Linked DNA regions of Homo sapiens: regions 2, 3, 4, 5 and 6 are each linked to region 1. The links are contacts of gene promoters, found by promoter capture Hi-C in blood cells and fetal thymus (Javierre and others, 2016). All regions are on one chromosome and are shown on one strand. The core of a region is centred on a gene start or on the middle of the fragment in contact, and the rest is flanking DNA. Distances in the headings are between cores, read along the strand shown. Region 1 holds the start of NLRC4 (NLR family CARD domain containing 4). Region 2 overlaps BIRC6 (baculoviral IAP repeat containing 6). Region 3 overlaps BIRC6 (baculoviral IAP repeat containing 6). Region 4 overlaps BIRC6 (baculoviral IAP repeat containing 6). Region 5 overlaps SPAST (spastin). Region 6 overlaps BIRC6 (baculoviral IAP repeat containing 6).

Region 1 (4,736 bases), core at 1,641-4,140:
CTTTATTAAGGCATATTAGGAAGCTGCCTGCCTGATTTGGCCCAGTGACTTCCCTGCCACTAAATATGTAAGCAGAAGACTAACAGAATTCCAGAATAATTATTTTTGGAGTTATGAGTTACAGGCCTCTAGGAAGAAAAGTATCGTGACTTTTTCCTTCCCTCCGCATTAAACTGGGAGTTAAAAGCATGAGTAGCTACATATGCTTAAAGTCACAGAATAGTTAGTGCCATGTGGTACTTCACAGATGGCATCTCAGCTGATATTCACAACAACCCTGGGGCAACTTGGGGAACCATCATTGCACTGCTAAGAAGCTAAGGTGACTTGTATTAGTCACAGGAAGGAACCCAGACTTGAACTCAGGTCTACTTGGCTCCAGAGCTCTGGGCATTTCCACTTTACCACACTCCTAGGATAATAAGCGTTGGGAGAGACTGGGAGGAAGAACATAAGGGCAGGGGACGTAACTGTTGGAACGTAGGATGCCGAAGTTACTAGTTAATTACCTATTTGAAATGCCCTGAAAACACCTGACTGCAAATCCACTCACAAAGGAAACTGGTGAGGCAGCCCAGAAGATGTACTTGAATGAATATGGATATAATTTTGCTTATTTTACTATGAAATACTACTGTATTAGTCTACTGTGGTTGCTGTAACAAAATATCATAAACTGGGTGGTTTAAAACAACAGAAATTTATTCTTTCACAGTTCTGAGGACCAGTCCAACATCAGTATCATGGGGCTGAAATCAGGGTGTCAGCAGGGCCACACTCCTGGGAGCTTTAGGGGAGAATCCATTTATGCCTCTTCCAGCTGCAGGTGGCTGCTGGCATCTTTTGGCTCGTAGCCGTATTACTCGAATCTCTGCATTCATGGTCTTACTGACTTCTCCTGTCAGTTTCAAATCTCCCTCTGGCTCTCTGTAATAAGGGACCATTATTAAGGGCCCACCTGGATCATCCAGAATTCTCTCCCCATCTTCAGAGCCTTAAATGGAACATATCTGGAAAGACACAATATTTACAGTTCCCAGGGATTAGGATTTGGGATATTTGGGTAGCCACTATTCAGCCTACTACAACCATATTTCTACATTTTCCCTTTTTATTCTATATTACATCATTTATTAGTACAAAAGTAATAGGTGTTTGCTATGAAGAATTAGAATATACAGGTTGGGCATGGTGGCTCCCGCCTGTAATCCCATTACTTTAGGAGGACAACACAGGTGGATCACTGGAGACCAAGAGCTCAAGACCAGCTTGGCCAACATAGCAAAACCCTGTCTCTACTAAAAATACAAAAAATTAGCCATGGTGGTGGCCCACACCTGAAATCCCAGCTACTTGAGAGGCTGAGGCACAAGAATTGCTTGAGCCTGGGAGGCAGAGGTTGCAGTGAGCCAAGATTGAGCCACTGCACTCCACTCCAGCCTGGGCAACAGAACGAGACTCTGTCTCAAATAAATAAATAAATAAATAAATAAACAAATAAAATAAAAAATAAATAAGTTGATAAATAAAATTAGAATATACAGATAAGCCAAAGACAGAAATTTAAAATTGCTTATAATTGTATTCCCCAGCAATAAGCATCATTACTATTTTGGTGGCTGTCTTTGCAGTTTTTTCTCTTGAACATATGTTTATATATAGGTTTCATTACAATTTAAAAATCTAGCTGATAGTGTAGCCCTCAATCTCACTTCAGAGAAACCCACCTCACAAGTTGGGAAACACTGACACTGATGCCCCCTTAGAAAACCCAGGATGTAGACATTTATTTGCCGGGAAACTTTGGTATCCCTCTATGGCAGATAGGCTACTGTCAGAATGCTCTTTTTGAAATAAGAAGTTATGTAACACAAAGACATGTTCCTGGTAGTTTATGCAAAGACAGAGGAAAGAGTATGCAAGAATGTCATCCTCAAGGGAAGTGCAGAGAGATTTCTTCAGTCCTCAGCTGAGTATAAGCTGGCCTCCTGGAGTCTGTGAACACAAACGTCCAATGTGAGTGTGCCTGTGCAAGCCCCTGGCTGTTTATACTCCGGAGGGTGTCCCCGTGCGTCATCGGTGGAGTGGACCAAAACTGGTGATCTGTTTGCCCTGTGTGACCTTGCCCAGAACCCTGCTGACTGAGAGAACACATCTGCTGGAAGTCCTCTGGGATTCAAGGTACAGGGGTAAGCATGACCTTGAATGCAGTAGCAATGTGCTTTAGCCAACTAAGCTGGCTCATTTCATTTACCGCTCTATCTCCCATGGTTAAGCATTAAAAATACATGTTGTGGCTGGGCATGGTGGCTCACGCCTGTAATCCCAGCACTTTGGGAGGCTGAGGCTGGCAGATTGCCTGAGGTCAGGAGTTCGAGACCAGCCTGGCCAACATGGTGAAATTCTGTCTCTACTAAAAATACAAAAATTAGCCGGGCATGGTGGTGCACGCCTGTAGTCTTAGCTACTGGGAGGACTGAGGCGGGAGGAACGCTTGAACCCGGGAGGCAGAGGTTGCAGTGAGCTGAGATTGTGCCACTGCCCTCCAGCTTGGGTGACAGAACAAGACTCTGTCTCAAAAAAAAGAAAAAAGAAAGAAAAAGAAAAAAAATATATGTTGGATGTTCAGAAGACTTTGTTTCATTTTAAGGTATAGAATAAGTAACTCAACAGCAATGAATTCATATGTTGTGAACAAACAGGAAACAAATGAGTAATTCCTTTCTTGACGGAATTTCTAGCTCTTGCATCTTTTACTCTGAAGTTCTACTTCTTCCCCGGCTACTCCTGCCTACACCCATCTTCCCTTTCTGAACTGGTAGTACTTGTGTCCAAACCACTCTTACTGTGCTTTGAAAAAAAAAAAAGGAACTGCTCAGCAGTTCCCCTCTCTGTACACTGTCCTCTCACAGAACAAGAAGGTATCTGGTCTACAAGAACTCGAGGCCTCACTGAAACGGAAAGCAAATACAAAGAAACTTTATTTTAAAAACATGTCTTGGTCTCCCAAGAAGAGGGCAATTGGATTGCTCAGCCAGGTACTGTGGGTAGAGAGAATGGGATTTTTAAGGTCTGGGGCCCAAATATTAAAATCTGGGTTTACATTCATTTAAAGCTTGTGTCTGGGATGTACAAAAGCCTTAACATTGACGAGTGTGATTTGCATGCCTGGCTGGATTTGCCTGCCGAGAAACCTTTAGGGGTGGTTAATCGGGTCTGCTGGGGCTTCATCAGGTTCAAGGGGTACATGTACCCCTTGGACTACTGTGAGATGGAAAGGACTTTGGAAACACTTTTTGGCATTACAGAAAGGAAACTCACTCTTTTTTTTTTTTTTTTTTTGAGACAGAGTCTTGCTCTGTCACCCAGGCTGGACTGCAGTGGCGTGATCTCGGCTCACTGCAACCTCTGCCTCCTGGGTTCAAGCAATTCTCCTGCCTCAGCCTCCCAAGTAGCTGGGATTACAGGCACCCGGCACCGCGCCCCAGCTAATTTTTGTATTTTTAGTAGAGACAGGGTTTCACCATGTTGGCCAGACTGGTCTCAACTCCTGACCTCGTGATCTGCCCACCTCAGCCTCCCAAAGTGCTGGGATTACAGGTGTGAGCCAACGTGCCCGGCCAGGAAACTCACTCTTGTTGCTAAGACTGTTGTTAGAATCACAGATGATCAAAGCTGAAAGGAACGAGGTGGACTACTTAGTCCATCCAATCTCCCAAGTTACTGATGAGAAACCTGATATTTGGAGACAGAAGTGAAGGAAATCACCCTTTACGGGACACCTATTTCGTGATAGGGTCTTTATGTACATTATCTCAGTAGATCCTTGCAGCCTGGCTTTGAGAGGTGGAAAATGTGGTAGAGAGGAGTTAAATGTCCTGCCCTACATCACACTGCTAATTGTCTACAAAACTAGGATAGAACCTGGTCAGCACACTTCTTAACTGTTCACACACTTTTATAATATTAGTCGTATTAATGTGTTTAAAATACCATAGACTGGGTGGCTTAAACAACAGAAATTTATATTCCCACAGTTCTGGAGGCTGCAAGTCCAAGACCAAGGTGTCAGCAGGGTTGGCTTCTCCCCACGCCTCCCTCCTTGGCCTTTTCTCTCTGTATGCACATTCCTGGTATCTCCCTTTGTGTGTCCCGATTTCCTCTTCTCATAACAGCCTCATTTGAGCTTAATGACCTCTTTAAAGGCTCTGTCTGCAAATACAGTCACATTCTGAGGTTCAGGGCTTCAACATATGGATTTGGGGGAAGCCCAGTTCAGCACATAACACTAATATTAACATGTGAGATTGCTGAAGCCTATTAAAGACCTAAGAACATTCTAGTCTAGAGCCTTTTTACTAGAAAGGAAGACAGATAATACCCACTGACCATCTTTGTCACAACTACTTTCATGTTTAATCTTCACAATAGTCCAGGGAGGTGAATATTATGCATGATTTGGAAAGCAAGATTCGGAAAGGCTAAGTAACATGTCTAGGGATACTTACCTCATAAGGTGCAGAGTGAGGATTTGAATTCAGATCTGCAATGCCAAAGCCCACACACATTTTCCATTTCTGTGTGCTTCCTGTCTGCTCCTAATTATATGTACTCTTTCCCTTATTTTATCTGTGAGGTGTGGGAATGACCCCATAGACGTGGGTTATATGGGTCCAGAGAAACTTCAGTTCTCTGAGGAGCTCATGTAACCTTTTTTAAGAAAATGCCAATTTTAG
Region 2 (4,736 bases), core at 1,457-3,956, 230 kb before region 1:
TATACACTGTAACTTTTCGTACGAGGAAAACAAAAGTATTAACAATGATAGCAGGAAATGAATTTTTTAGGTCTTGATGTATTTATTTTGAATTGCAAATAAAAATACTGTTAATACTTTTTCATTATAGTTTATACACCACAACTATATTAGGTTTATTGAACTCAATACTAAAAAAAGTTCACCTGAATTACACAATAAATACTTTTATAATGCTTTTTAGAGTATAAATAACTTCAACATAGATTTTCACAAATAACCTTCTTAATTACCCCATTTCAAAATCAAATAACTCAGGAGCAGAGAGGTAAAATGATCCATAAAAGGTCATGTTTCTAACAACTAGCAAAGCAAGCATTAAGCTAAGTGAAAAACAAAACAAAAACTAAATAAAAATAAATTTATACCAAGTCAAAAAAAAAAAAAACTGCTTTCCCAAACTTCTAATTCATCAATGAAAGAAATGATAGTGAACACTACATTAAGTAACCTGAGGTAGAAGTGTGCTCTAACACTTCTACATATTATTTTATTTGATCCTAATTTGATTTGATGAACAACTCATAAAACCTTGGAGTAGTTCTGGAAAAATAAAATACAATATAATCCTCCAAACTATTTTAGAGTTAAATAAAGTTAATTTCTGATACTGAGCATACAAATTATAGCTTTCGTATCAGAACTTCCTATATAAAACCAAGGTATCAGTAGGAAAGCTTGATCTTCAGTAACTTAAAAAGTTTTAAAAAGTTATTTCCTCCTTTCTTTTATTCAAAAACAGAAAGAAAATATTATTTTTTGCAATGCCTTGTTCACTGATACCTAGCTATACAGATAACTAGTTATGTAATTTGGGGCAATATAGCTGATGCATGTTTTCTTACATGTAAAACAATTAAGTCAGAATTGGTGATCCCGAGGAGTCTTCCTGTTTGAAATTCAATCAATCTTTAAGTACAATAATCACTTGATAACATGTCTCTGCCCCTACCAAAACCCTGTCCCAATCTAACTGTAAGTTAGTTTCTTCTCTCTTACTTGTTCCTTGTCTCATTTATTTTATTAAGATCTGTAAAATTAAAATATATTAAGTATTAGAGTATTAACTAAAGCTCTATGAAGGCAGATATTTGATCTTGGTAAATACTGTATGTCTAGTACCTAGAACAAGCACACAGAAGCCTCCTAAACACTGAATAAGTGAATTAATAGAGAAACTGGGCTGTTGAGGACAACTAAATTAGAATTTATCTGACGGCAAATCCAAGAAGTTTAAAATGATAAACTTGCAAGATAATCTTGAATAATCTTGATTTTAAAAGATGTTATAAATGCTAAATATATTTTTACTTTAAAAGAAATATAATGAAGTACAAATATTTACACAGAAGCAGTACAACATAACAAGAAATTAAATTGATATAAAGGAAAATTTACAGTGAAACAGAAAATGTTTATAAGTCCTGAGCAATATTGTTATCTTTTGCTAAGCAAAATCATTAACATCATAAAATGATTAAGGTGAATTGATAATCTTGATAGTAGAAGTAATCAAATATGACATATTAAAATTTATTGATTCCAAAATTTTTGAAATGCTTCTCTACCTTTGCAGTATTTACTCAGAATGTTTCCAATTATCCAAAATTAATGCCAAAAATATGTATCTATATGAAAACCTAGTATCACTGTTCTAAGAGGTTAACTTACCACCTGCTATTATTTAGTGTCAGTATAGCTATTATTACAAATAACAAAACCTTTTTTATTATATTGATACATAAAAGGCTATTATTTAATACTTTAGCAATAAAAAAGTTACATAGCTTTACATTACGAATACTGTTTATTGAATAGTCTGGGCATATGCCAGGCTAAACATCATATTACCTGTGGACTGTGTTGATTTGTTCCATGTGGACTGGTGCCAGAAAGAAATTTCACTAATACATGAATTAGGTTTGGATCTGAAACCAACAAATGAGCAGTACTCTCCTGAGTTCCAATGGCACTGCTGGAACCAGCTATAAAACATTTTTTAAAAACCTCTTAAGAAATGGACCATGAAATAATGGAAATGCAGTATCTGAAAGCATCTTTTAGTTCCAAGGAAAATTCATACATTCCTAGTAATTACAGTTTATTAAAGGGGTTTCAGTTTCTACTATATTGACTAAGCAGGACTTCCCTCTCTATCTACCATCTATCTCTTCTGCCCCCTTCTGATTCTGAAAACACCTCGAGCTTAATGTACATCTTATTTAGTACAGTCAAACAGAAAAGATATAACTAGGTCCTGACTCTTATTTGGAAAGCCTATTCTAACTAACTCCCCCTTCCAGAAACAGTCAGAGATCTACTTTTCAGGTAAACTTTAATCAAGTTTTCTAAAATAAGTTGTAGCAAAATTATTCCTTTTTGCATGTTAGTTGTATACAGGTTAACTGTGAACTAACGTACAGGTAACACAACAGTTTTCTGAGATGAATAAAATATCCTTTGCATGAAATCCACCTTCAGTATCACAGTGATGCTTTTGATCTCATTTTTGGAAAATACATTCCAAATGAAAAAAGATAATAGCATTTTAAAGCTAAGCAATGATTTAAATTATTAAACAAAACCCAGGAATCTAGTTATGCATGTTTATGAATATAATAATGAATAAATCATTTTTAAGTACAAAGGTATCTTAAAAGAATAACATAAAAACTTAGATGAAATGTAAAAACCTGCCTTTGTACTCTAAAAGCAATCAATTTTCTTTTAATCAGTTTTTAAAAGGTAAAAAATATGATTTGAACATCCAACGAGACATATGAGACTATATTATCAAAGTAAACAAGCACAAAGGATATATAAGAACTAATTCAGAAGAGACATGTTAGAAGAAAAAACTCAGTCACTTTTATTGGAGACAGAGTCTCACTCTGTCACCTAGGCTGGTGTGCAGTGGCGTGATCTAAGCTCACTGCAAACTTCGCCTTCCAGGTTCAAGTGATTTTCGTGCGTCACCCTCCCAAGTAGCTGGGACTACAGGCGCCCACTAACTTTTGTATTTTTAGTAGAGATAAGGTTTCACCATGTTGGCCAGGCTGCTCTCGAGCTCCTGACCTCAAGTGATCCACCCGTGCTGGCCTCCCAAAGTGCTGGGTTTACAGGCGTGAGCCACCACATCTGGCCAACTCAACCACTTTGACAAGTATACCACTCCTTGGAAAACTCTGTTTTAAGAATCCAATAGTAGAACACTAAAGTATATGTCAGAGATTTAAATGAATAAATTTATGAACTTACAATTAAGCTGCATGTTTGTCATGAGTGTTAGGCTATGAAGCACAAGGCACCATGTCCGGAGCAAAGTATTGGGATACCAAGCTAACACTGTGAGAAAGCTAGTTATTGATGCTATGCAGAAAAGAGAAAGGGAAAATATTTTTCAGAAAAACAATGTTTATGAAGAACTAAGTCAAAAGAATAAATTTAAAAACAAGACACTATTTCTTTAAATCCGCTCCTTAACCAGTGTCTTCAAAACATGCAAATAAAAGGAATTCTCCATTAAATACAACTAACGCATTAAGAATCAGTAACATTTTAGGATAAGGTTTAAAGCTCAGCCCACAACACCTGAAATGACATGTTATCACTCTCAGTATGTTGTACTTTCCAAACCATAGGCATTTCTACTTCAATACAATTTACTAAAAATCCTCACACTCTACAAAACTGGCAACTGAAAACAGTAACAGATACTGGAAAAACTGGTATTATAGGCATGCGTCAACACAGCCGGCTAATTTTTGTATTTTTTTCACCATGTTGGCCAGGCTGGTCTAAAATTCCTGCCCTCAAGGGATCTGCCCACCTCGGCCTCTCAAAGTGCTGGTTTTACAGGTGTGAGCCACTGTGCCCAGCCAGGAATAACTATTTTTTACTCTTTTATTTTTTATATATATTTAATATTTCTCATAATAAAATTAAAAACAGATGAAAACAAATTTTATTATAATAATAATATAGTTGAAGAGATGGAAACCTATAAATTAAAGAAGGGCTGGCTGGTGCTGAGACAGTGCAGATGTAAGTAGAATCTGTGCGTGACTCAGTGGAGCTGGCACTCACATTGGAAAATACACCATGTAAGACCCAAGCAAGCTACAGGATGCCTCACTATAGAGAGAAAGCATCAGGAACAGATTCTCATTTTTATTTTTCTTTAAATATAACTAAAATAGATTCCTGTAGCTAGAGCTGAACGCTAATTCTTTTCCTGTTGTATTATTTTACTACCACCATTCCCATACTCATATTTTGCCAAGAAACACACACAACTTCCACAGGAAACTGACCACCTTCTCCAGCTGACTAACTCCTCCAGGGGCTAACTCATAGTTTTAAAAAATGAAAAAAAAAAATAATAAAAAACTGACCTGCTTTTACAGATCAGACAAAACTTCAAGAAAATATAAAGGAGTAACAGAACATTGTAAATTTTAGTTGCATACAGGCATACCACAGACCAGAGAGTAGGAGTCTTCTATTCTCAACAAGGTCTCCCTGTATCTTTCCTGCTAATCGGTAAGTTAGTGCATCTTTTTAAAAAGGTATTCTGTTTTTTCCCCACTAGAATGTTATAACCCCTAATGACAAAGATTAGGTATATTTTAACCTAATAATTACGTTTTAAGCTTGCTATTTAGACTATAATGTTTTTCTCCTAATAAATCTTACCT
Region 3 (4,736 bases), core at 102-2,601, 210 kb before region 1:
AAAAATAAAAAGCCTTGTTAACTGGGAAGAGGGTAATAAAATAATGTTGCAGGTTGATTTCCTTTAATTTTTAAATTTTTCTGTGCTTTGAACCTATAAAGAAAGCTTACAACTCAAAATCTGAGAATTTCTGTATTTAAAAATACAGGCCATTTGTAGTTAATTAGTAGATACCAATAATGCTAAATGAAATGACACATCATACTAAGAAAAAATAAAAACTCTGATTTCCCTTTCATAACTCACTTACATGCATGCTATTATAAAGTCTTTAAACAAGCCTGAGGGAAGACACCTTGCAAAAGTCATAGCTGCATTTAGAAACTAAAAGTCATGTCCAGACAAAGGAGCTTGTCTATAAAGTCCACCAAGTATAAATGTTATCTTTAAACAGAATTGTAGTGAAGTTCATTTGTATTTTCCTTAAATTACATACAGCTGGTAGCTCCAGGCCAATAGCCAGTTCTGGAACAACTGCGAAGTCACTCAAAATCCCCACCAACATATTATTATAAACTTCTGATACCTGTCAGAAACCTCTCCCTGTCTTTACCATTCAAAGGTTTCTTTGCAGCTGCTGCTTCATCTTCAACAGTTGCCACATAATCCAGCAACCTGGACACCAGCATAACAACCCAACTGATCATGGGAATATCTAGTACTCCTGGAGAGAGATGACAGCAAAGGAAAAACATCCAGATGACTTTAGGATTCCTAATTAGATCTGATAATATAAGTGAAACAAAACATTCTATAAATCCAAAACATATCTTATCATTACTAACACTAATATTTATATGTAATAAGTCTAAAAAATAGACACCAACAGCCAGAAACTGAGTAGAACATCAAATCTAATGAAAGACAAAGACTTCAAGGTATAAGAACAGATTAAGTGCAGGCTGAATCCAAAATGGACTATATAAACTAGAAAGCAAGGTATAAGATACTATTCTTAGATTCACAGGAACTGAAATAAAACATCTAACTCTCAACTTATAATTCATATAGCACTAAACTAGGTTCTAATGTTTTTATTCCTATAAAAAAGTGTGTTCAAACAAAACTCATTATTGTTGATGGGAACAACAACTGTGCCTTACAGCTCAAACTTATGTAAGGGAGTTTGACTTTAGTTATAATAGTACAGGAAAAACATACTATACTAAGTTCAAATAATGAAAAGGAATAAATTTTAAAAGTATTAACTATATGGCAGTCAATCACATGAGGGTTGCTCATTCTTAAAAGCTTACATCATAAAAATATTAAATGTGCTGCAAATAATTATTAAAGTATTTCAGAGAAGATATTTTATAAAAGAAATATTTGCAGGAATATTGTTTTTACTAAAGAACACTGCTTTCTCTTAATACCTTCTGTCCTCCTATGCATGGGTAACTGTGGCTGAAGAGGTGACAATAAATTATCCAAGAGATTAAGTAAGCTTTCTAATACTCCACTATTACTAAGTGATCTTTGACCAATGCAGGAAAGTAACATGAAGACCCTAAAAACAAAACAAACAAAAAAGAAAAGAATAAGAATCAATTCGATTGTTCAATTTTTAAAATAATTTACATAGAAATTTAACAGAGTAATGATAGAATATTTGCTTTCTTAAAACATACCATATTTCAGACTGGGAAAGCAAGATTTGTATCTGGAGGTATGAAGCTAAAATTAGTTTTTTTTCTAACTACTGGTTACATTTTCTAATGTTATTAACAAGAAATCAAGCACTTAGTGAATGAGAGAATTTTATTAGCCACAAACAAACACATTTAGCATATAAAGCAACATAATCTAATAGAAATACTTATAAACACAGATCTATGAAGTCCACAAGTTCAATTAGAAAACTAAAGAGTAGACTCTAATTATCACTTATTATCTTCTTCGATACACAGTGCTGGTGCCCTTCACTGGTCATTTCACAAACTCTGAGATCTGCTTCATATTCACAACTTAGTATCCACATTTCAAAGATTTCAAAAGCTAACCAGTAACTGTGAAAAGTACACATCATTAATAACAAATACCTCCAACATTTTCTGACCTACCTATCCTGTGGAAAGATGAGAAGCTGTTCCGAATTGTACAATTCCTGAAGGACATTAGAAAGAAATTGACCCCACCACCTTTCACCACCACACAGTTGAACAAGAAGAAGACCAGTATGTAACCGTATCTTTGGGGTTCCACTGATGCACAAGTGTTTAAAGAGCTCTTCACAGGCCTGGGCATGAAATGTGCTCTGCAAAACTGCAGGAACAGAGTGTCCTATTACAAGAAAGAAAACAGTAAACTTTCCTATTTAAATGTATTGTATAATATTAAAATACGCATGCCTAAATACACTTTCCTCTTTTCTAGTAATCAGTAGATAATTATATTCTATTTATTCTGCAATGTATTTACTCCTTGTATGTAGAAATCTGTTACATACTTGGAGACGAAAATATTTAGCACTTAAGTAAATTACATTTCTTGCCTATGGAGCTGGATGTGTCAGATGGCTGTGTCAGTGAATGTGTGAGCTCGTGTAATGATCAAAAATACCTCCTGGCTAGAAAATGATAGCTCTATATTAGGTTAGCAATTTATGAAAAGTTTCACTGTTCAACTTCAATGCAATACTTAATACTTTGCCAGTAGCACAATGATGTGCATGTCAATACCAGAAACCCAAAAAAAACACACACAACTTCATTTAAGAAATGTTTAAAATAACAGGGAGAAATAGATTAACCTAAAGAGACATTTCATAAATACTGACATTTTTTAAAATACCAAAATTTACAATAGAAAATATTGACACAGATCCTAAAACATGCAGCGAAATCACATCAAGTATATTCCCAGCCTTTAAAATATGTAAGCCAAATACAAACCATTAGAAGCATGAAGCAGGCTGAGCAAAGTGTCCAGTAAATATCTGATGATAGTACGTAACTGCTCTGTGGAAGATGTCTGAATTAAATCTTCTGGATTTGATGTTTCACTCAACATCTTCCGGCTTGCACCTAGCGCCACTTTGAGCCTCTGCACTGCATTATGAGCCAAATTTAGTTGAAGCTGTAGCTGAATACAATCTTGATAAGCAGAAAAAACCCTACTGTCTTCCTCAACTGCCTTATCTGGTTTTCGTAAAAAGTACTGTGCATTGTTAGCACTGTTTAGAGGAGGAAGATCAATACTTTGCAAAAGGGTTTCCAGACGATGACAAGCCAAGTTATACCTAAAGTAAAAAAAGATTGAACAAAATAATTCTTGTAATGTCCTCTTTATGTACATGTACAAATACTAAGAATTAAATCTCTTAAACCTGTTAACATACAACCATTAAAAAGAATTACCCACTTGATAGGTACTAATAAATGGAGCCCATTAATTAATCACAATATTTTCACGCATTAAGTGTTATTGTAACGTGCTAATCTCCTACTTCCTCTTGCTCTCTTATCTGTACACCTATGAAAAGACATTTCTTGACAGAATTATAAGCAAGACATTATATAAAATACAAAGTTTCAATAACATTAAAATTTGCACTCTGTACTAACCTGCACTGTATATCCTCCTGCAAAGCAACCATCATTGCTAAATGCTGGTCAATTTCTGGCTGGTTTGCAGATTCTCCCTCTCCCTTTAGAGGATCATGCATTAACTTCAGTTCACTTTCCCAAGGCAAGATGTAGGTATGACCATAGTAAAATCCTAATGGGATTTTGGCTCTGGCATTTGTACTCCCGTAACGTCCAATAACAGTGATCTGAAATGAAAAATTATAAATATACATATATACACATCTGCCACAATAAAAATCTGAGCAATGTATTTAAAAAGATAGTTATATTTTTTAATTATATATTCATTTTTCATAACTTGTCAGAAACATAGAAAGCGTATCAATTTACTTTCTTAAAGTTCTTTACCTTCATGAATCTGCACACGGGAGGTGGTATTAAGTCATGAAGAATTAGTGAATGAGTGCTTATATCAGTTGCCACTACCAACCGCCTTCCATCCACCTCTTCTCCTAATGTCCAAATGTCAATTGACAAAGAGGCCAAGTCTCCACAAGTGGGAATCAATACATCAGTCAACAATATAGGCCTCCCAAAATCCAAGGTCACAAATCTTCTTGCTCCTATGAGAGAAAGAAGAAACAGTTGACCAAAAATATATCAATTAACCAAATGATACACTCAAAAATAATTTGGAGCACTCATCTTAAAATATGAAAGCAACTCACTAAACTATAAATAAGAGGAAAAGTAAATATGTAAAAATGGCCTTGTCAATTGATTCAAAAATTTTCTGAAATCCCAGTCTGTGTTAGTTTTGAACCCCAAGACGTAAGTAGAAAATTAAGAGTAGCTGGGCACAGTGGCAAGTGCCTCTAGTCCCAGCTACTGGGGGACCTGAGACAGGAGAATTGCTTGAGCCGAGGAGCTCCAGGCTGCAATACACTAGACTGCTACTGCACCTGTGAATAGCCACTATACTCCACACTGGGCAATACAGCGAAACCCCTCTTTTTTTTTTTTTTTTTTGAGACGGAGTCTCGATCTGTCGCCCAGGCTGGAGTGCAGTGGCGCGATCTCTGCTCACTGCAAGCTCCGCCTCCTGGGTTCACGCCTTTCTCCTGCCTCAGCATCCCAAGTAGCTGGCACTACAGGCGCCCGCTGCCATGCCCGGCTAATTTTTTGTAGTTTTAGTAGAGACAGGGT
Region 4 (4,736 bases), core at 613-3,112, 180 kb before region 1:
ATCATGACTATAATCTATTAAGTCAAATGGCAACTTAAATCCAAGATACAACATTCAGAATTTCCTTTAATAAAAGAAATCACTACCTGAAAGGACATCTGATAAATCAATTTCATCTGACTGGACACCAATGCTGCTGTTATAAACATTTTTACAAGAAGAGCCACTCATCTCCAAATCAAAGAGGACTGGATCAAATGGTGAGCTATATAATCCATATCTGAAAAATAAAATAATGCACTAACAATTTTCCTTTCAGCCATCTAATTAACAAATTACCTTTACTTAGTTTTAAAAGCAGTCTGACTAACAGCGCAGAGGGCTCTCCCTCTCCCCTCTCCCCTCTCCCCTCTCCCCTCTCCACGGTCCCCTTCCACGGTCTCCCTCTGATGCCGAGCCGAAGCTGGACTGTACTGCTGCGATCTCGGCTCACTGCAACCTCCCTGCCTGATTCTCCTGCCTCAGCCTGCCGAGTGCCTGCCATTGCAGGCGCGCGTCGCCACGCCTGACTGGTTTTCGGTTTTTTTTGGTGGAGACGGGGTTTTGCTGTGTTGGCCGGGCTGGTCTCCAGCTCCTAACCGCGAGTGATCCGCCAGCCTCGGCCTCCCGAGGTGCCGGGATTGCAGACGGAGTCTCGTTCACTCAGTGCTCAATGGTGCCAAGGCTGGAGTGCAGTGGCGTGATCTCGGCTCGCTACAACCACCTCCCAGCCGCCTGCCTTGGCCTCCCAAAGAGCCGAGATTGCAGCCTCTGCCCGGCCGCCACCCCGTCTGGGAAGTGAGGAGCGTCTCTGCCTGGCCGCCCATCGTCTGGGATATGAGGAGCCCCTCTGCCTGGCTGCCCAGTCTGGAAAGTGAGGAGCGTTTTTGCCCGGCCGCCATCCCATCTAGGAAGCGAGGAGCGCCTATTCCCCGCCGCCATCCCATTTAGGAAGTGAGGAGCGTCTTTGCCCGGCCGCCCATCGTCTGAGAGGTGGGGAGCACCTCTGCCCCGCCGCCCTGTCTGGGATGTGAGGAGCGCCTCTGCCCGGCCGCCCCGTCTGAGAAGTGAGGAAACCCTCTGCCTGGCAACCGCCCCGTCTGAGAAGTGAGGAGCCCCTCCGTCCAGCAGCCACCCCGTCTGGGAAGTGAGGAGCGTCTCCGCCCGGCAGCGACCCCGTCCGGGAGGGAGGTGGGGGGATAGGGGGGCCCGCCCGGCGAGCGGCCCCGTCCGGGAGGTGAGGGGCTCCTATGCCCGGCCGCCCCTACTGGGAAGTGAAGAGCCCCTCTGCCCGGCCAGTCGCCCCGACCAGGAGGGAGGTGGGGGGGGTCAGCCCCCCGCCCGGCCAGCCGCCCAGTCCGGGAGGGGGGAGGGGGGGTCAGCCCCCTGCCCGGCCAGCCGCGCCGTCCGGGAGGGAGGTGGGGGGATCAGCCCCCCGCCTGGCCAGCCGCCCCGTCCGGGAGGTGAGGGGCGCCTCTGCCCGGCCGCCCCTACTGGGAAGTGAGGACCCCTCTGCCCGGCCAGCCGCCCCGTCCGGGAGGGAGGTGGGGGGATCAGCCCCCCGCCCGGCCAGCCGCCCAGTCCGGGAGGGAGGTGGGGGGTCAGCCCCCCGCCCGGCCAGCCGCCCCGTCCGGGAGGGAGGTGGGGGGATCAGCCCCCCGCCCGGCCAGCCGCCCCATCCGGGAGGTGAGGGGCGCTTCTGCCCGGCCGCCCCTACTGGGAAGTGAGGAGCCCCTCTGCCCGGCCACGACCCCGTCTGGGAGGTGTGCCCAGCGGCTCATTGGGGATGGGCCATGATGACAATGGCGGTTTTGTGGAATAGAAAGGCGGGAAGGGTGGGGAAAAAATTGAGAAATCGGATGGTTGCCGGGTCTGTGTGGATAGAGGTAGACATGGGAGACTTTTCATTTTGTTCTGTACTAAGAAAAATTCTCCTGCCTTGGGATCCTGTTGATCTGTGACCTTATCCCCAACCCTGTGCTCTCTGAAACATGTGCTGTGTCCACTCAGGGTTAAATGGATTAAGGGCGGTGCAAGATGTGCTTTGTTAAACAGATGCTTGAAGGCAGCATGCTCGTTAAGAGTCATCACCACTCCCTAATCTTAAGTACCCAGGGACACAAACACTGCGGAAGGCCGCAGGGTCCTCTGCCTAGGAAAACCAGAGACCTTTGTTCACTTGTTTATCTGCTGACCTTCCCTCCACTATTGTCCTATGACCCTGCCAAATCCCCTTCTGCGAGAAACACCCAAGAATGATCAATAAAAAAAAAAAAAAAAAAAAAAAAAAAAAAAAACAGCGCAGAGGGAGATGCTGACTAGATTTGACCCATCAAATTCAGTGAATCTCAACTATGTTCCCTGCAATCTATACTCTAAAAGACACTGTCCAGAGACTCAACAAATGTGATTCCAATAAGCTGGCAACTAAGGTACTAAGACTGCCACCTGCAGATTGAAGCGAGGGGTATCAGGCACCATTCTCTCCCGTGAATCATTACGACATAGCCTCAAGTACAAAGGCTTTGAGTAAAATGTCATCAAAATCAGAACATCTAACCTAGGAAATTATAAAATCACTGCTCTAAATAAAGGAACGCCTTACTTCAAACGTAGACAATCAGGCAAGAACTTAAATCTAACCTTTTGCTATTGCTTAATTCATCACGTTAGAAGTTTTGAAATACAAGTAGCAGGTAGAAGAATACTAGTTATGGGACAATAAGTGACTCACATAATTCCACCTATAAAGTGCACAGAGAAACAGACACATTACATTCTTCTTCCATTAGCAGGGCATACCACTTTTCATTATTAAATAAAATTAGCCCTCTGAATAACCATCATAAGGATTTATCAAACTGTTAAAGAGTAATTTCTGGCCGGGCACGGTGGCTCATGCCTGTAATCCCAGCACTTTGGGAGGCTGAGGCGGGCGGATCAACTGAGGTTGGGAGTTTGCGAACAGCCTGACCAACATGAAGAAACCCCGTCTCTACTAAACATACAAAATTAGCCAGGCCTGTGGTGCATGCCTGTAATCCCAGCTACTCGGGAGGCTGAGGCAGGAGAATCGCTTGAACCCGGGAGATGGAGGTTGTGGTGAGCTGAGATCACACCATTGCACTCCAGCCTGGGCAACAAGAACAAAACTCCATCTCGATAAAAAAAAAAAAGAGTAATTTCTGACAAAACAGAAGAAAGTAAAACCTCAGGCTATTATCGTATGGAAAAAGTAAGGTATAAACTAAACATTTTTGTAAGAAAAAGACTGTTATCAGCATATATATATTAAATAACAGTTCTCTGCAAAAGCGTGATCATACTCAGAGACGCCTATTATTAGTCATTAGATATACTAAAATACCTTGTCTGAAGTAAAGCCTCCATTGGTGTTAGCCTGTCCTGTAACTGTCTGGACACTGCAGTAAGCAAAGATGCACAAGCTGTACTGCATCCAGCCAGATCTTCATCTTTCACATAATTCAGTAAGACAAAATACCAATAGACAGAACCTGGAAACAATAAAAACAAAATAAATGTTTCTTTTTCCTCCTTTTCCTCTAACAATGAGAATTTAAGATTACCTATTTATCAGAATACTTCCTTTTGCTAGAAAGATACTCCCTTTTCTGGAAAGACAATCTTATAGGCAATTTACAAAGATAACTCCTTGGAGGGATCAAAGAGGACACTTAAAATATAAACAACACACTGAGGCACAGTCTTACACTAAGAATTTCAAATATTTCTGGAGAGTTTTATAAAGTCATTTAGGTGTATAATAATGTGTATTTATTTAGGTGTATAATAATGTGAGATGCCTCTGAGGGACACTTCGAAATAGCTGAAAAAGTGAGGAGACTGAAGGTCCTTCAAATCATCCTTACCAACATACTGTTTCTCTGTACTAAACTTTAAAAAATAGTGGATGGCAGTGAGCTTCAAACAGCCCATTTTAGTGAATGAATGGGGAATAAAATTATTCTATAATGCGTTAGGTACAGATCGACATTGCTTAAAAGATTATCATGACAGTGTATTTTTACTTTTATTAACTGCTACATACATGCCAAAACTTAAGCGTCCCAACTTTAAAACTATCCTTAAGAAGCTTTTAAACATTAGAGACTATCGTAATGAGCAACTGAGTCAAAATGTTCTATTCCATAGAGTTAATGGTTGTAGCCAAAATATGTTCAATGTAAATATAAACACGCTTTACCTAAATTAAGAAAATGATATAACTTTTCAACAACTCTAAACAAGCATTTTTTTTGTTTAACACAAAGATGAAATCTTTATGAAATATATAACTCACTGAGGTAACTTGTTGAATGGGTTGTTTTTTTAAACTCCTGGCCTCAAGCAATCCTCCCTCCATGGCCTCCCGAAGTGCTGGGATTACAAGTGTGAGCCACTGTGCCCAGCCTGAATGGTTTGTTTTTTAATAAAACAGATTGTGAAAAATGTCTATCAATAAATAAAATTTGGCTTAAAAGGCCAAGTTAGTAGCCCTTCATAGTAACACCATGTACTAGCAAAAACAGTAAGAATCTTTAAAAATCTTCATTACCTTATATATGTGCTATTTTAGAGAACTGCTTTATGAATTCCTACTTGATAACTACCTTCATTCTTTTTTGATACATAATAATTGCACATATATAGGGGGTATATGTGATGTTTTGAAATATGGATGCAATGCACAATGATCAAACCAGGGTATTTAGGATATCCATCACCTCTCTGCATTG
Region 5 (4,736 bases), core at 1-2,500, 140 kb after region 1:
TTACAACTATGATTCTAGAGACATTTTAAGTACTCTTTGCCATCTAAAAAGCATCCTTTTTTCAGTAGCATCTTCCCAAACAGAGCTGCCCATAGCTTTAAAGGAAACACATAATCATAAATTAATGTAATAATTAAAAACAGCTGGGTGTGGTGGCTCACACCTGTAATCCCAGACTTTAGGGGGCAAAGACAGGAGGATTACATGAGCCCAAGAGTTCAAGACCAGCTTGGGCAACATAGGGGAACTCTGCTTCTACAAAAAATTAAAAAAAAAAAAAATTAGCTGGGTGTGCTGGATCACCTGAGCTCCCAGCTATTCAGGAGGCTGAGGTGGGAGGATCACTTGAGCTTGGGAGGCCAAGGGTGCAGTGAGCTTTGATTGTGCCACTGTACTCCAGCCTGGCTGACAAAGTGAGACCCTGTCTCAAAAAAAAAAAAAAAAAAAAAAAAAAAAAGAAATAAAACCAACTCCTCGGTGGTAAAAATGAAAGCAGACTGCTTAAACAAGACATATTGAACATAGGCATGTTTCTCTACTTAGAAATCCCACCAAAAAATACTAAATGAATAAAAAATATATGAATCTTCCAAACAAAAATAGAAAAGGAGATTAACACAATGAATTCCACAAAATGGAGAACTGATAAAGTGTGGTAAATCACTTAGCAGAGCTTAAAACCTAAATGCCTACTTGTGAAGGGATACCTAAATGCAAGAAGCACGCTGACGTGAACAAAAATCCCAGGAAGGTTCAGGAATTGGATGTTATCAGGCACCACAGAAAGCAGTAGTAAGGCAGGCAGTCAAAAACAGAGGAACTGGCCGGGCACGGTGGCTTACAGTGGCTCACGCCTGTAATCCCAGCACTTTGGGAGGCCAAGGCGGGCGGATCACGAGGTCAGGAGATCGAGACCATCCTGGCTAACACGATGAAACCCCGTCTCTACTAAAAATACAAAAAAATTAGCCGGGCGTGGTGGCGGGTGCCTGTCGTCCCAGCTACTCAGGAGGCTGAGGCAGGAAAATGGCGTGAACCCGGGAGGCGGAGCGTGTATTGAGCCAAGATTGCGCCACTGCACTCCAACCCGGGCGACAGAGCAAAACTCCGTCTCAAAAACAAACAAACAAACAAACACAGGAACTGATTGAAAGTTGGTATGAGGAACTCCCCACCAAAGGCAGTCAAGCAGGTACCAATCACCACCAAAGCAGAAGGCAGGAGTTTCGTTCTCTAAAGAAATAAGTCAGAGTCTCCAGATTCAGGGACACTAGGCATGGCAGGAATCAAGGGTAGAGCTCCAGACTGAAAACATCTCACCTACACTTTAATAACAGTGAAGGTGTATGTACTTTTAAGTTGAATCATATGAAATGGCTAATATCCAACTTAAAAAAAAAAACCTGCTGGGCGCAGTGGCTCACGCCTATAATCACAGCACTTTGGGAGGCCGAGGCGGGCAGATCCCCTGAGATCAGGAGTTCAAGACCAGCCTGACCAACATGGAGAAACCCTGTCTCTACTAAAACTGCAAAATTAGCTGGGCGTGGTGGCACATGCCTGTAATCTCAGCTACTCGGGAGGTTGAGGCATGAGAATCGCTTGAACCCTGGAGGCGGAGGTTTCAGTGAGCCGAGATCGTGCCATTGTATTCCAGCCTGGGCAACAAGAGTGAAACTCCATCTCAAAAAATTAAAAATTAAAAAAAAATAAAAATAAAAATAAACTTTTTTTTTAGTGATTTTAGGTTTACAGAAAATTGAGCAGAAAGTACAGAGTTCCCATATAACCTCTCATTCCTTTCCAATTTCCCCTACTCTGAATATCTTGTATTAGTGTAGTACACTTGTTAGAACTAATGAAAAAATATTCATATATTATTATTAACTGAAGTCCATATTTTACATTAGGGTTCACTCTTATGTTTTATATTCTGTGGGTTTTGACAAAGGTATAATGACATGTATCCACCATTGGATTATCATAAAGAACAGTTTCACTGCCTTAAAAATCCACTGTGCTCCACCTATTCATCTCTCCCTGTCTCCCTTGGCAACCACTGATCTATTTACTGTTTCCATAGTTTTGCCTTTTCCAAAACATCATATAGTCAGAATCCTATAGTGTAGCCTCTTCAGACTGGCTTCTTTCATTTAGCAATATGCATTTATGGTTCCTCCATATATTTTTGTGGCTTGATAGATCATTTCTTTTTATTGCTGAATAATACTCCATTACATGATATACCAAAGTCTGTTTATCCATTCCCCTACTTATGGATGCCTTGACTGCTTCCAAGTTTTGGCAACTATGAATAATGCTGCTAGAAATATTCATGTGCAGTTTTTTTTATTGGATGTACATTTTAAACTTATTTGGGTAAATACTAAGGAGTAAGACTGCTGGACCATATGGTAAGAGTTTTGTAAGAAACTGTCAAACTGTCTTTAGTTCTGTAAAAAACTGTCCAACTACCTTCCAAAATGGTTCTACCATTTTAGATTTCCATCAGCAATGAATTAAAGTTTCTGCTGCTCCACATCCCTGCCAGAATTTGGTGTTGTCAGTGTTTTAGATTTCAGCCATTCTAATAGGGATGGCAGGGTATCTTGTTGTTGTTTTAATGCGCAATTTCCCTAACGACATGATGTTGAGCATATATTCATATGCTTGTTGTCATCTATCTATCTTCCTTGGTGAGGTGTCTGTTCAGATATTTTGCCCATTTATTAACTGGGTTGTATATTTTCTTATTGTTGAGTTTTAAAAGTTCTTTGTATATTTTGGATACTGGTCCTTCATCAGATAATGAATTTTGTAAAGTCTCCCACTCTGCTGCATGTCTTTTCATTCTCCTAACAGCATCTTACACAGAGCAGAAGTTTATAATTTAAACAAAGTTCAACATACTGATTTTTTTTTTCAAGGATCATGTTTTGGTATTGTACCTAAGAAGTCACTGCCAAACCAAAAATTTTTCTCATGTTATCCTAGATTTTCTCCTATGTTATCCTCTAGAAGTTTCAGTTCGCATGTTACATTTAGGTCTATGATCCATTTATTTTTGTGAAAGTTGTCAGGTCTGTGTCTAGATTAACTTTTTTGCATGTGGATGTCCAGTTGTCCTATACCATTTGTTGAAAAGGCTATCTTTTCTCCACTGAATTGTCTTTGTCCCTTTGCCAAAGATCAGTTGACTTTATCTGTGTGGGTTGATTTCTAGGCTCTCTGTCCAATTCTACTGATTTATTTGTCTATTCTTTTGCCAATGACATGCTGTCTTGATTAATGTAGCTTTACAGTAAGTCTTGAAATTGGGTAGTTTCAGTCCTCTGACTTTTTTCTTCTTCAATACTGTGTTGGCTGTTCTAGGTCTTTTGCCTTTTCATATAAACTTTAGTTTGCCAGTATCCACAAAATAACTGGCTGGGGTTTGACTGGGACTGCACTGAATCGATATATGAACTTGGGAAGAACTGACATCTCAATAATATTTAGTCTCCCTGTCCATTTACATGGAATATCTCTCAGTTTACTTAGATCTTTGATTTCTTTCATGAGTGCTATAATTCTTCTCATATAGATCTTCTACAACAAACTTTGTTAGAACTACACATATTTCATTTTATTAGTGTTAATATGAAAGGTATTGTGTTTTTTTTTTTGAGACGGAGTCTTGCTCTGTCCCCCAGGCTGGAGTGCAATGGCGCGATCTTGGCTCACTGCAACCTCTGCCTCCTGGGTTCAAGCGATTCTCCTGCCTCAGCCTCCTGAGTAGCTGAGATTACAGGCACCCGCCACCATGCCCAGCTAATTTTTGTATTTTTAGTAGAGATGGGGTTTCACCATATTGGTCAGGCTGGTCTTGAACCCCTGACATCAGGTGATCTGCCCACCTCGGCCTCCCAAAGTGCTGGGATTACAGGTGTGAGCCACTGCACCCAGCAGTATTGTGTTTTAATTTCAAATTCCAGTTGTTCACTGCTGGTAGATAAAAAAGCAATTGACTTTGTATATTAACTTTGTATTCTACACCTTGTCATAATCACTTATTAGTTCTAGGAGCTCTTTTTGTTGGTTCTTTGGGATTTTCTACATATGCAATCATGTTATCTGCAAACAAAGATATTCATCTATTTTTTTTTTTTAAATATAGATGGGGTTTCACTACATTGCCCAGGCTGGTGTCGAACTCCTGGACTCAAGCAATCTTCCTGCCTTGGCCTCTGAAAGTGCTGGGATTATAGGTGGGAGCCACCATGCCTATCCCTCAACTGTTTTTGACCTATAAAAACAGTAATTTCAGCCCAGGTGTGGTGGCTCATACCTGTAATCCCAGCACTTTGGGAGGCCAAGGCAGGTGGATCACCTGAGGTCAGGAGTTCGAGACTAGACTGGTCAACATGGCAAAACCCCGTCTCTACTAAAAATACAAAAATTAGCCAGGCGTGGTGGTGCATGCCTATAATCCCAGCTACTTGGGAGGCTGAGGCATGAGAATTGCTTGAACCTGGGAGGCAGAGGTTGCAGTGAGCCAAGATCATGCTAAGGCACTCCAGCCTGGGCAACAGAGTGAGACTCTGTCTCAAAACAAAACAGAAAACAAAACAAAACCTAGTAATTTCACATGGCTCAACCTAACAGAAAACAAAGTCGTCTCCTCCCACCCATTTTCTGGAACACCAATAGTCAAGCTTGTATTCTCCAAACAAGAGACTAGAAAATTCTTTTCTAGA
Region 6 (4,736 bases), core at 1,002-3,501, 140 kb before region 1:
ACAGAGTAAGTGTAAAAATGAATCCCAAGAAGAAATATTAATAATTGGGAATTATCAAGAATGAAGAAGTCCAAACCAAGAAAACAGGTTTTAAGTATAGAATGGCTGCCCATTAAAGAAAAATAAATAACCAAGTATTAACCTGCTGTACTAAGATGAACAATAAAATTAAGTAGTAGTATGTTTTAAAGGAATTCAGGTGTCTTGATATTTCAAAGACAGTTGCCAGATAAAAGCCTTAAATTAGCAAAGAATGTTTTATTCTGAAAGTTCTCAAAAATATAATCAGGCAACAGGCACAGTGACTCACACCTGTAATCCCAGCACTTTGGGAGGACAAGGAGGGAGGACTGCTTGAGCCCAGGAATTCGAGACCAGCCTGGGCAACACAGTGAGACCCCATCTCCACAAAAAAATAAAAAATTAGCTGGGCATGGTGGTACATGCCTTTAGTCCCAGCTACTTAGAAGGCTGAGGTAGAAGGATGACTTGAGCCCAGGAGGTAAAGGGTGCAGTGAGCCGTGAGCCCGGGTGACAGAGCAAGACCTTGTTTCAAGAGAAAAAAAAAAATTATATATATATATTTGTAAAATCACATTCTTTTAAAATATTTTGTGACAAAAACATTTTATGGCTAAGGCCAGATGCAGTGGCTCACACCTATAATCCCAGCACTTTTGGAGGCTGAAGCAGGCACATCACGTGAGGCCCGGAGTTTGAGACCAGCCTGGCCAACATGGTGAAACCCGTCTCTACTAAAAATACAAAATTTACCCAGGCATGGTGGCACGGGTCAGTCCCAGCTACTCAGGAGACTGAGGCACAAGAATCACTTGAACCTGGGAGGCAGAGATTGCAGTGAACCAGGATCGCACCACTGCACTCCAGCATGGGCGACAGAGCAAGACTCTCTCAAAAAAAAAGAAAAAAAATTATATGAATAAAATAACTAAATTGTACACTTACATGAATTGTATGGTTTGAAAATTACACTTCAATAAAACTTTTTAAAAAATCACATGCGGCTGGGCGTGGTGCTCACGCCTGTAATCCCAGCACTCTGGGAGGCCAAGGCAGGTGGATCATCTGAGGTCCGGAGTTCGAGAACAGCCTGGCCAACATGGAGAAACCCTTTCTCTACTAAAAATACAAAAAATTAGCCAGGAGGGGTCGTGGGCACCTGTAGTCCCAGCTACTCAAGGAGGCTAAGGCAGAAAAATCATTTGAACCTGGGAGGCAGAGGTTGCTGTGAGCCAAGATTGCGCCACTGCACTCTAACCTGGGCGACAGGGTGAGACTCTGTCTCCAAAAAAAAAAAAAAAACACACACACATTTTAAAAAGAAACTAGAATACATATAAATGTTACCATAATCCCATAGTGTGATTATGACTACTCTATATTTCATCAATTTCCACTCCTGCATTTTCCCATTTTCCTGCAATAAGCATGCACTATTTATATAATAGGCACTGTATTTACTAAAGCCTTCTACATTTTGCAAAACCTTTTACAAAGCAATAAACATGCAAAATAAATATTATGGTTAAAGTAAAAATGTTTAGTTAAGATTATATGTGTTTCTGAAAAACAGACATACTAATATTGTAACAGTACCTTGGTTTACAGCAATCCCATAAACAATTTCATTTACATTCAAGGAATTTTTACCAACTTGACCTGATATACAAATGACAAGTGAATCATCTAGAAGAAATCTTAATTCATTAAAATTAAATGTATTAGCATATCTTCTTCCTTAATTCAGAAGACAAATATAGTCTTCTAAGAAAAAATTGTCAAAAACAATTCCTTAGTCCTTCAATGTAAATAAGAAATAAAAACAAATTTTACAAAAACTATTCTAAGCAAACTATATTGCTAATTACTTTAAACTTCTTGGATAAGCTTAGATTTTTCCAATTAATGTATTATTCTTCAAGCTAATGAAACCCACATAGTATATTTTATAACCAAACATATTGGATCTTGTGTCACATAAAGTGAGAGGTAGTGTGGCTCATTATATTCACTATCAATTCCAACAGGACTGCTCCTACTTCTTGGGGAGGGGAAGTGAAGAGAGGGGGCTTAAGGTTAGGGATGAAGTTTCACCTCTTCAGCTTCCTCCTACCACATCAACTTAATGTTTTTGTATGATTTGTTTGAGACTTTCTTCAGAGAAAATTGACCTTCGACCCTAGATTGTGAATTTCTTAAAAGCAAGTAGAGATTACCTCAACTCAAGCACATTACCCCATATAATGTTGAGAAGTATTTCCACTAATAATACAGAATACATGTTTATCTAAAATGCAGATTTTACCTAGGAGGGTGTGACTATATGTGTATGGGTGTATGTAATCCTAGAAGTATATTTTGATTCCATTTTTAATCCCCAAATTACAAAACTTCAAGACAAAGTTCAAATTAAAGTAAGTGCCTAGAAGGACATATAAATTTCATTATCTTCTATTACTTTTCCACTAACTTCTAAGAAATCACAGAAATTAAGCATGCTTAATATCTAGTCCTATTGGCAAAATATGGTCAGAAACTCAGACAACAGTTAAGCTGCTTTCCCATTAAGCTTTCACAGAGATTTATATTAATAGAACAACCACAAGGCTTTAATCAACATGTTATTACCAAGAGGAACTAGACAGAAGTAACACATATATTGTAAATTTTCCACTAATTCCATTAATGAAATAATTTCCATTAATAAAACTTTACATTATTCCTTAATGAAAGGACATCCCACCAAAGGGGTTGTGAAGTAAAATGATAAATCACTGACTACAGAGTAACACCCATCACATGTCAGTAACATAAGGAGCCCCTGGAAGTGAAATGGCAGATATTCTCAGTCTATCAAGACATCTGATCACAGTTAAATAGCTCCATTTCACATGGCTGCCTACACAATCTTCTTCCCCTCCACCTACAGAATCTTACTAGCCCAGTTCAGTCAAAACCACAGTGGTTCTTAGGAAACAAGTGGGTGAAAGAGGGTGATACTTTGACTCTCCCACCCCACCACAAAAATCAGGAATCTCTCAGAGAAGTTGAGTGAAGGAGAATCCAGAACAGCAATTTTACCAAAATATTTCTATAGCAATAATTATGGTATCTCAACTCACTGCTGACTACTGGTACACTGTTTTAAACAATTAGATCCTCTTGCCTCACCTCAGGTCATCCCATTATTATTATTCATTAGCACTGCCATAATTTGAGGTGCTAATGAAAAAACGGAAACTGAAATCATCTAGTTCGAATGCTCTATGAAAAGATTTAGCAGAAGGTGAAACTACAATAGAATTTCATTTCATTATTTAGACTTTCCAATGTTGACTTTTCATCATCTATTGTTCAATGTGGCAATTATTTCCAATTGACATAGATTGTGATAGAAAGTTAAGCATATTTTATAAACTACGGTGTTTCTGAATGAAGATTTTTCTTCAAGAATCACAGATTTCAGATTTCTAACCAAACATTTACTCTCTGATCTCTTAACTGCGTAACTTTTTTTTCCTCCTCTTTAATTATTAGAACTATGAGAATATAAAATTTAGGAAAACATGTAACATCTATTAAATACTACTAAAACAAACTCACATACCTATCTCCTTCCAATTTTGGTATATCTGAGCAACTAGAGGAGTCCTCCAGCCACGCCAAAGTTGGTCTCCTTGAATCAACTCCTGAGCTTGGGTCTCCTGATAGAATAAGCTGTTGTACAATTGCTGGATCATAGGCATTAATTTCAAACTTTAAGTGCACCTAAACAAATGAAAAGCCTAAGTTTACAACTGATCTTTTTTCAATTACTAATTTGTTACTTCAAAATTCAAACATACCTTCATAAGTTTGGAAACATCCCATATGCAGATCTTTCCTCGTTTAGTTGCAGCAGCTAGAAAATGAGGGCAGCTCCCCGACCCAAAGCAAGATATTCTGTCAGTTCCATCCGTACAAGGAAACTGTGCAGGACTTGTTGCAAGAGTGACTGACAATGGCACATTCTGTGTGTGCTCACCTTTCACAAATGGGCAGTTTGGGGAATGTCTTTCGTGTTCAGACCTTTGCATAGATTTAGAAAGGAAAAGTTTACTAAAAATAAAGCAATTCAGTTTGTACATTAAAACAGAACTCCAGGATCATCATCTTTTTTTAACTGAACTTAAAGTATTCATCATTAAAGACTTAATATAACCAAATCATTCAGTTTTATGAAGATCACTCTAACATGTTCAACCGTTTACAAATTCACACATTCAATATTCCAAACATTCAACAATAGCAGTTGTTACTCACTTTAACTGATTATAAAGTCAATCTCAGAAAAAACTGAAAAACCAATACAATGCTATATTACATACTACAAAATTGTTTAAACTCCTGTTATTTCCTCACACTGGTTTCCTACAGCTTTGAATGATTAACTACTATGTTTCAATTTAAAATTCTCCATATCTATCAGGGGCCACAACTATAAATGATATACAGCTGAAACTCGATAAATGCCACTCATAACACAAAAAGTTATTTTACTAAATATTTTACTAAATTATTTTACTAAAAAGTTTTTTAGTAAAGATCTGAAGGCAGCCGGGTGCGGTGGCTCATGCCTGTAATCCCAACACTTTGGGAGGCTGAGGCGGGTGGATCATGAGGTCAGGAGTTCGACGCCAGCCTGACCAACACGGTGAAACCCCGTCTCTACTAAA

Evidence for each region. The method cuts DNA at HindIII sites, captures the fragments that hold promoters and counts their contacts. A CHiCAGO score of 5 or more calls a contact.
Region 2: a contact is called between a fragment that was not itself captured here and the fragment with the promoter of NLRC4 in region 1, in 1 of 17 cell types (monocytes). The highest score is 6.8, in monocytes.
Region 3: a fragment that was not itself captured here is called in contact with the fragment with the promoter of NLRC4 in region 1 in 1 of 17 cell types (monocytes); the score reaches 6.3 in monocytes.
Region 4: a fragment that was not itself captured here is called in contact with the fragment with the promoter of NLRC4 in region 1 in 3 of 17 cell types (neutrophils, monocytes and M2 macrophages); the score reaches 6.1 in neutrophils.
Region 5: a fragment that was not itself captured here is called in contact with the fragment with the promoter of NLRC4 in region 1 in 1 of 17 cell types (neutrophils); the score reaches 5.3 in neutrophils.
Region 6: a contact is called between a fragment that was not itself captured here and the fragment with the promoter of NLRC4 in region 1, in 1 of 17 cell types (M2 macrophages). The highest score is 9.0, in M2 macrophages.

What each region holds. Positions count from the first base shown.
Region 1 is chr2:32,263,040-32,267,775 of GRCh38, reverse strand. It overlaps NLRC4 (NLR family CARD domain containing 4), which reads left to right and starts at 2,890. Exons shown (of 9, transcript NM_001199138.2): 1 at 2,890-3,038. The HindIII fragment of the contact is 10,627 bases long and covers 1-3,117 here.
Region 2 is chr2:32,488,713-32,493,448 of GRCh38, reverse strand. It overlaps BIRC6 (baculoviral IAP repeat containing 6), which reads right to left. Exons shown (of 74, transcript NM_016252.4): 42 at 4,735-4,736; 43 at 3,298-3,408; 44 at 1,891-2,024. Among named protein-coding and RNA genes, the nearest start is that of MIR558, 41 kb to the left of the region's middle. The HindIII fragment of the contact is 3,975 bases long and covers 719-4,693 here.
Region 3 is chr2:32,466,942-32,471,677 of GRCh38, reverse strand. It overlaps BIRC6 (baculoviral IAP repeat containing 6), which reads right to left. Exons shown (of 74, transcript NM_016252.4): 27 at 3,939-4,153; 28 at 3,567-3,775; 29 at 2,895-3,241; 30 at 2,064-2,283; 31 at 1,377-1,510; 32 at 554-664. Among named protein-coding and RNA genes, the nearest start is that of MIR558, 63 kb to the left of the region's middle. The HindIII fragment of the contact is 196 bases long and covers 1,254-1,449 here.
Region 4 is chr2:32,444,279-32,449,014 of GRCh38, reverse strand. It overlaps BIRC6 (baculoviral IAP repeat containing 6), which reads right to left. Exons shown (of 74, transcript NM_016252.4): 21 at 3,347-3,494; 22 at 87-220. Among named protein-coding and RNA genes, the nearest start is that of MIR558, 86 kb to the left of the region's middle. RefSeq lists an enhancer at 1,173-1,750. The HindIII fragment of the contact is 4,466 bases long and covers 1-4,095 here.
Region 5 is chr2:32,122,191-32,126,926 of GRCh38, reverse strand. The region is part of intron 7 of SPAST (spastin); the gene reads right to left. Among named protein-coding and RNA genes, the nearest start is that of SLC30A6-DT, 41 kb to the left of the region's middle. The HindIII fragment of the contact is 6,892 bases long and covers 1-4,696 here.
Region 6 is chr2:32,400,516-32,405,251 of GRCh38, reverse strand. BIRC6 (baculoviral IAP repeat containing 6) reads right to left here. Exons shown (of 74, transcript NM_016252.4): 7 at 3,867-4,089; 8 at 3,629-3,789. Among named protein-coding and RNA genes, the nearest start is that of BIRC6, 46 kb to the right of the region's middle. The HindIII fragment of the contact is 682 bases long and covers 1,911-2,592 here.